2 separate regions of the Homo sapiens genome follow, and region 2 is linked to region 1. The links are contacts of gene promoters, found by promoter capture Hi-C in blood cells and fetal thymus (Javierre and others, 2016). All regions are on one chromosome and are shown on one strand. Each heading gives the region's core, a stretch centred on a gene start or on the middle of the fragment in contact. The rest is flanking DNA. Distances are from core to core; before and after follow the strand shown.

What was found. Contacts are between HindIII fragments. The CHiCAGO score rates a contact against its expected background, and 5 or more counts as called.
Region 2: a contact is called between a fragment that was not itself captured here and the fragment with the promoter of IMMP2L in region 1, in 1 of 17 cell types (total CD4 T cells). The highest score is 5.5, in total CD4 T cells.

The regions. Positions count from the first base shown.
Region 1 is chr7:111,560,308-111,564,153 of GRCh38, reverse strand. It overlaps IMMP2L (inner mitochondrial membrane peptidase subunit 2), which reads left to right and starts at 1,662. Exons shown (of 6, transcript NM_032549.4): 1 at 1,662-2,303. RefSeq lists a silencer at 1,501-2,130. The HindIII fragment of the contact is 1,654 bases long and covers 1,168-2,821 here.
Region 2 is chr7:108,580,667-108,584,512 of GRCh38, reverse strand. No RefSeq gene overlaps it. Among named protein-coding and RNA genes, the nearest start is that of DNAJB9, 13 kb to the right of the region's middle. RefSeq lists a silencer at 2,262-2,462. The HindIII fragment of the contact is 5,107 bases long and covers 1-3,846 here.

The DNA.
Region 1 (3,846 bases), core at 413-2,912:
TTCTTAAACCTTTAGAATAAATTTTGAACCAAGAGTGCCAGAATGTCTGTTATTTACATTAGTATTAAGTGATCTGAAAGTGCACAGAGTAGTTTGGCAGTATCTAGAGGGAGAATAGAGACAGAAATAATGAAGATACAACTGGAGGAGTAAGAAAAGGAGAAAAAAAGTATTTTATGTCTGTTCAGTATTTCTAGGTGCCACTGCTGCTAAATGCCTGGGCTTCAGCCTAGGTTGGGTTGCTCCTAGCAAAGAAAACCAGTCCCTGAGACAACGAGTATTGCCAGGGAAGACAGGCTTTAATGCAGGTGATGCTGGCAGGGAGACCAGTCTCAAACATGTCTTAGGGAGACTAAAGTTAGGGCTTTCTATAGCAGGGAATTATGGAGGGGTAAGGAAGAGGAGTTTGTGAACAGGCAGCAGATGCACCTCATTGTCCAGATGTAGTGTTCTGGAAAGTTGCATTTCCTTGACACTATCTGGGAGGTCTGACAGTTTATCTGCTGAGAAAGGAACTCAGGTAAAATGCACGCAAGTTTCTCAAGTTTCACTTCGAAGGGAAAATTTGGCCGGTTTCGGTCTTCCCTTTCTATTTATCAATTCCTCAATCATGCGGAATCTGGTAGTTGATCTTTCTGGCTGCTTCACGTGAAGGAAGGGCATCTTGGGATGATATGGAATGAAAATATCGCACCTGTAATTGCAAGTACTTACGAGTACCTGGTTGGCATCCAGCTTGTTGGAGCACCATGATTTGGGTACTTTCATCAACATTTTAAACCACATTGAATTAGGATAATTAATAACATGGATAAGAAGGTTTCTTTGTAGGTTGTAATAACCCAGTTAAGAGTTTGTACCATTCGGCCGGGCGCAGTGGCTCACGCCTGTAATCCTAGCACTTTGGGAGGCCTAGGTGAGCGGATCACGAGGTCAGGAGATGGAGACCATCTTTGCTAACACGGTGAAATCCCATCTCTACTAAAAATACAAGAAGATTAGCCGGGCATGGTGGCGGGGGCCTGTAGTCCCGGCTACTAGGGAGGCTGAGGCAGGAGAATGGCGTGAACCCGGGAGGCGGAGATTGCAGTGTCGCTCTGGCGACAGAGCGAGACTCCGTCTCAGGAAAAAAAAAAAAAGAGTTTGTACCATTTGAGGGCAAAAGCTTCAGTATGAAATTCCCGTTTCTCTCAAGTAAACCGCCTGTCCTGTGTTACTCACTTTGTTTTACCTGGAGGCAGCAAAACTGAATAGTTTTCCTGAGTGCTCATGAGTAGGAAAAAATGAAATGAAGAGTTGCCCAGAGATCGCTAGTGAGGTGCTTTGCCACTACTGCCCTGTACTTAAGTAACTGTGAGGGTTCTCTGTTTCCTGGCTTCTAAAACAAGAGGAAGAGCTGAAGACACAGTTTCATAGACTTTTCGGCTCTTTATTGTAGTCTCCCCCATTAGTACGTTGCTGAGCTTAGGGCAAGTGCTCAATAATAGCTTGCTGAATTAGTGTTGTGTTTGATCCTTTCAGATCCACGCCGCATTTTGAGCCCGACCTGGGCGGGCGGTCCAGAGACCAGTTTTCCGCCGGGGGCGGAGCTTCGGGCGGCCAGCGCGCGACGGGGCAGCGGGGCGGAGCTTGCCGCCGGCGGAGGGCGGGGTCTGCGCGGGGACTTCCCCCGGGCTGAGCTGCGCAGCGGGTGCGGAGGGCGGGCGCCCGGCGTCCGGCGGCGGGTGGGGGGCTGTGAGGCTGGCAGGGGTCGGCGGGCGCGTAGCCGCCGACCCTTGGTGGTCTCTTGGGCTGGGGACCCTTCCCTGGGAGTCGGCCCCGGCCCCGGCGGGGCGGGCGTTGCCGGGAGGCGGAGGGGTGCGCGGCCGCGAGTCCTGCGTGATCGCGAGCATGTGTGCGTGCGCGTGTTTATCTGAGGCGCGTGCGGCGGCCACCCCAGCCTAGTCCTCTTCTTGGTGCCACTGGCTAACTAGGTTGAGAAACCGGCGCCACAGGCGGCACACCTGGCCCGGAGCTGGCCCGCTCCTCCCCGCCGAGCCGGCGCCCCAACAACGCGCCCTCTCCCAGTCCTCACAAAGGGGCCTAGTCCGGCCCCCGGCTCTGGCCGTGAGGGAGCGCTGTGGGGGCGCGCTGCCTTCTGCCTGGAAGTGTTGGGCAGGTGGTGGGAGAGCGTCAGGCTTGAACAACATGATTTTAAAGCACGTGTCTGTCTGTCGTTTTTTACTTTTAGGGTTTTGGCCAAATTGGGCGAGGGCACAAAATAACCACTTACCCCTTCTCACCGAGGAAGAGCGGGAGAAAGGGTAAGTAAGGAATGGTCAGGGGTGGAAGGACCTAGGACTTTATCCTGAGAGCGAGCGAGAGAGAGAAGGGCTAGATGTCCAGAACTGCTCGTGGGGAACTTGGGCCCAGATTCTACCTTTTCATCGGGAACTGGAGGACCCACCTTCAAAGTCACAGGCTCCAGGCCCCGGACTGTTTTCAGCCTCACACAGTCTATAGAGTTTAACAGCTTGGGCATGTGGATCCCTTTTAGCCCCTTGACCCGACAGAAAACTGCACTTCCCCTTTACCTGTTTTTACCTTGGAACATTGGTCCTCTCTAGTTGTCTGTCTCCGGCCCCTATCTTATTAGCCAGCTTTGACTAATCCCTGAGACCATAGCACTAAAGAATCCAGGTCCTGTTTGATAATGAACAGTAACCCCCCTAGGGATGTTTACATTTTAAAAGGGTACTCCTGAAAAAATCCTTTAGGACCCCAAAGCATAAAGTTAGTAACAAGATTACAAGTGTTGAAGTTCTTTGGGATCTCTCAAGCTTACAGAAGAAGATGTTTTGAGGGGAGAGAGATGACCAGGCTGGGCCTTTTTCTCTGGGCTTTCACTCTTGGTACCTCCTGGCAAGCATTCCATTCACTTTTGAAAAGTTGCCAAAAAGGACACTGAAGTTCTCTGAGGCTTACTGTGATTTTCAGTGTGGTCTATTTCATTGGTTCTTCTGTGGGACTTTTCTATCACTTCTTTAATACACTGCTTCCCTCTCCCCTGTATGGTGAAATGAAACACAGCTCCTCTCACAAGGTTGGGAGCTCATTATGCATCCTATATGTCACATATAAATAACCGTTTTAAATTAGTTGAAATTCAGATTAGCTACAAGCAGGAATGTAGTAAAACTGCATTCTTGGATTCTTACACAGGAAAAGTAGAATTGCCCTCTGTGATAGGCTGCCTATTCTGATACTGGCTGCCTGTGTCCTGAACGTGCCTATTTGTTTGTGCTCAAGTGATAGGTGACCACATAATTTATGGAAAACAGGAAGTGATTGTTTATTGATAATGGGTTCCTTCATTGATTCAATAGCTAATTCTCTCTTACCATGTGCTACGCACTTTTATCAGCACTTTGATAAAAGTAGGATGGTGAGAATGATGAGATTGTATTGGAGATGGCTGTTTTGGGGTAGGCCTTTCACCAGTTTTGTGGATTTTCTCAATAGTTACATGTTAATTTACAAGACTTTCCCTGTACTACTGATCATAGTGGTTTGCAGGTCTATACAGTGTTGTGGGAGAACAGAATTATTATTCCGCCTTTCTAGTACTTTCAGTAATAAACTTACAAGGATGGCTGACCTTGATGATTTGTTTCCTATAATGAATAATGTTATAGTCATTTTCCAGTGTACGAGTATAATAATTAGATGAGGATAACTTTTGTAGTTGTTCCATAAGAAGGACCTAATATTAGGAATCATGGAGAGTGTAAAGGATGATGTACTTAGAAAAATAAATTCGAAAGTAGACCATTTTTAACTTGCATGGGTTTCTGTGCATTTAGCCTC
Region 2 (3,846 bases), core at 362-2,861, 3.0 Mb after region 1:
CCTGGCCAGTGGGGTGAAGTATATGTGTCACTTCCGGGCCAAAGCATTTGACAATGGGAGACTCTTATTTCTTTCTCTGATAGCCAAAAAAGCCTTGCATTAAGCTGGTAGAGCCACAATTTATGAGTCAGCACTGATGTCTCATCAGGTGGGAGACAGCTGCCATGGAAAGAAACCTGGACCCACAGCAGATTTTGTATGAATGAGAAAAAAAAATGTTTATAGTGCTAAGTCACTAAGATTTTGGGGTGGTTATCACAACATCAATTAACTGATGCTGACTAATAGACTCTTTTACCTACACAGAGAAGGGAACAGAGATGAATGGATCATAACCCTCCCTGAGAAGCAAAGAAAAATGTTGTTCTCCATATCTCATGTCCCAGATTTACATGGGCCTATATTACTGATCTATGTGTCAGAGAATAAGAACCAGTATTACCTAAAAGATAAAAATCAATAGAAGAACCAAATGATATTCATTAACAAACACCATTCCTTCCATTTCTAATTATGAAATATGTAATTTAAGACCTATCCTAGAATAACCATTTAGAAAATGCTAAGGTAAAATTTACTTAAAACAAGAAAATATTGTAATACTTTTAAATTATTACCTACATATTAATACACTTAGTTGTAACTAAAAGTAAATTGTGAAATGTCAGTGGAGAATTGTAATGACTTTTCCCTAATATATGGAATGAATCATGTAATGTTTCTTCAGGTAATTATTATATGAAATTATATTTAAATAATATGAAATTAATCCTAAAGTTGAATAGTTGAAAGTGTCTGCAATACTGATTGAAACTGCAGATTTAGTGAGTGATAATTGCATAATGTGTCACAACTCAAAAAGACTCGACCAGAGGCATCCTTGGGACCTCAACAGCATCAGTTGTTTGGGAGAGAGTGAAAACAAGGAGTTTCCAGGGCCAAGGCTAAGGGAAATAATCCAGGTGTAGATTTGACTCCCTAAAGGCCAGTAGTTTCAAATTCAAAGCTAGTATTCAAATTGATGAGGGAAATTTAGGTGACCATGGCAGGATGAGGCAGAGTGGAGAAAGGTGGGCAGCAAAAGATTTGATTGAGTAAAGGAGCCATGATCACAACCAATTCCAGGAAAAAAAAAAAAAAAAAATAGTATTGACCTTGATTAAAGACACTCGGATCTCTAATGTAATGAACACCATTTATCAATGCCTACATAAAGTAATCTTTACCCAAAGATAAAGATAATTTTATTTACAAACCACCCAAAGACATCTTTATACATAGATGTTGAATTGGTAGCTATGCTCACTTACTACCTGAGTGAAGAGTAGACTATTAAGGCATACAATTGCAATTCAATTTTATACTTCAAAAAAATCATAAATTATTACATCATGAAACTTTGGAATCTGTCCCAAATAGTTGGAACCAAAAATGTCATCTACCAAGGCCAAGATTCCACAGTACTTAAGGTGAGGTTTGTTTCTAACTGAAAAAAAAAAACCCAGCCATCATTCATGGGTACAAAAAGAGCCCAATCCTTTTTAAAAACATCTAAATAATCTAATAGTGAAGAAGAAATCATAAAGAAAATAAAGATTTAAAAACCACTGAGGTCTGTTTTTAAGTTTTAATATTCAACTGGTTGTAGGATACACATCCTTCTCTCATTCCCCTATAATATAATGTCTTTTTTTCTTGGTATCCACCTGCTACCATTTGAATGTGTCTCCCAAAGTTCGTATGTTGGAAACTTAATCCCCAATGTTACAATGTTGAGAGGTGTGACCTTTAAGAGGTGACTAGGTCATGAGAGGTCTGTCCTCATGAATGAATTAATGCCATTATCATGGGAGTAGTTCCCTCACAAAAAGCTGAGTTCTCTCTCTCTCTCTCTCTTTCTCCCATATGATACCTTCTGCCATGTTATGACACTGCAAGAAAGCCCTCACCAGATGCCAGCACCTTGATCTTGGACTTCCCAGCATCAGGGCTGTGAGAGACAAATTTATCTTTATTATAGGCTACCCAGTCTGTGATATGCTGTTGTAGTAGCACTAAACAGACTAAAACACCACGCTTTTCCATGTAATGATGAGTTTCAGGGGAGACTAGACCAGACCACCATTCTGGGTCTTAACTGTTGACCTACATCAATTGTGGTCATCATATTCCCCTTACTAGTGATTAGTTTGGGCATGGACTTGTAGCAACAGGTAGCATTTCTGGCCAATAAAGATGGGAGGGAAAGTGTTGTGAGGACATTCTAGAAAAGGTTTCATTTCTCATAACAACCATTTTATTACCAGCCTGAGGATGCGACCAACACACAGAGAGGTCAGAGCCAACACAGCTACTAAGAAGCAAAACCAGATTCCTGGAATACCATTCCTGGAGCTGCCTGACCTCTGTACCTCTTGTTAGAGAAGAAAGTAAGTCTTTTATTGCTCAGCTTATTTTATGTATTAAATTTAGTTTAGGGTTTTCTGTTACCTGCTGCTGCAGGCATCCTCACTGATACACCAGGGTTTGTGGTTGTTGTTTTCCTTAAAAATACACTAATGTGGGAATCAGGCATTCACAAACAAAAATTCAAACATTACAAATTGAAGTAAAATGCAAAGTAAATCTTCCCGACTCCCAGTCACATTCCTTAAAAGCTATCATGTTACCTGTGTCTGTTGTCAGATCTTCCGATTGTCATTAAAATTTAAAATAATGTGCTTAAATCACCAGTCTTTGATTTATAACTTTAGACAGAGTCAATTGATTACCTACTATGAAAGATAATAGAATTAATACACTAATCTTTTCTTACACTTCACCTTCCATTTTCCTTTCTCCTTCCATTTCCTGATATGTTAGGTGCATTTCACATGATTATCCTATAAATATAATTAAATCCTCCCTTCTTTGTTTACACACTGATTGGAAAACATTTATAATATAATAATGCAAACAACTTCATTGTAAATTGAGCAACTAGATCCATGAAACAAAATATTTCTTGTTTCCCAAAAGAAACTTCCAAGTGTCAAATTCTAATATATACTTTCAATTTCCTTCTAGTTTTATTTTCTCCTGAGGGTGTATAACTCAGCTGCCATCATCTCTTGTCCTCAATATTGTTCCTTTTTTTGTACATTGCCATGTAGAATAAAAGCCAGTTTTTTTTCATAAAGGGTATGTGGGTGGTAATCTTTCAGTTCTTACATTTTCAAAATGCATTCATTTGGTCTCATCCTCTATTAATAATGTGTCCATTTAGGCCTCAGTTCAAAAGCACTTTCCCCTCAGATCTTTGAAGACACTGCTCCATCATTTCAGCACCTGATATTATTTTTCATAAATATGTTAAACTAATTATTACTGCTTAGTAAGGAAACTTCTTTTGACCCCACTACCCCACCAAATACTGCTCATTTCTTTGCAACTCTTCCCAACAAAACTCTATACGTTGCTTTTCTAGATTTGTTGTTTTTCATTTCTTTTCCTTTTTTAATGATTTATTTTTTGGTGAATCCTTTGGGTTCTCCCACAACATGAGACCATTTTGTAGGCACTTACTGGAAACTTTATTATAAAAGTGTACATGGAGTACAAGATGAGTAATTTTTCATTTATGCATATATGCAAAGTAAAAAAATTTGTTGATTCCAGCAAGACTCTGTAATTAACTATTCATTTATATTAGTATTTTAATCTGTTTCTGTTCATCACATTATTTTGCACAACCAAAGGATATTTCACCAAAATATGTATAGAGGTAGAGTAAAAGTGTTACGGGATCCTTGGGGTGTCATTTTGCCAGCTGGAAACCTCTGTGGCCGGCAGCCCCTTCTGCCTGAG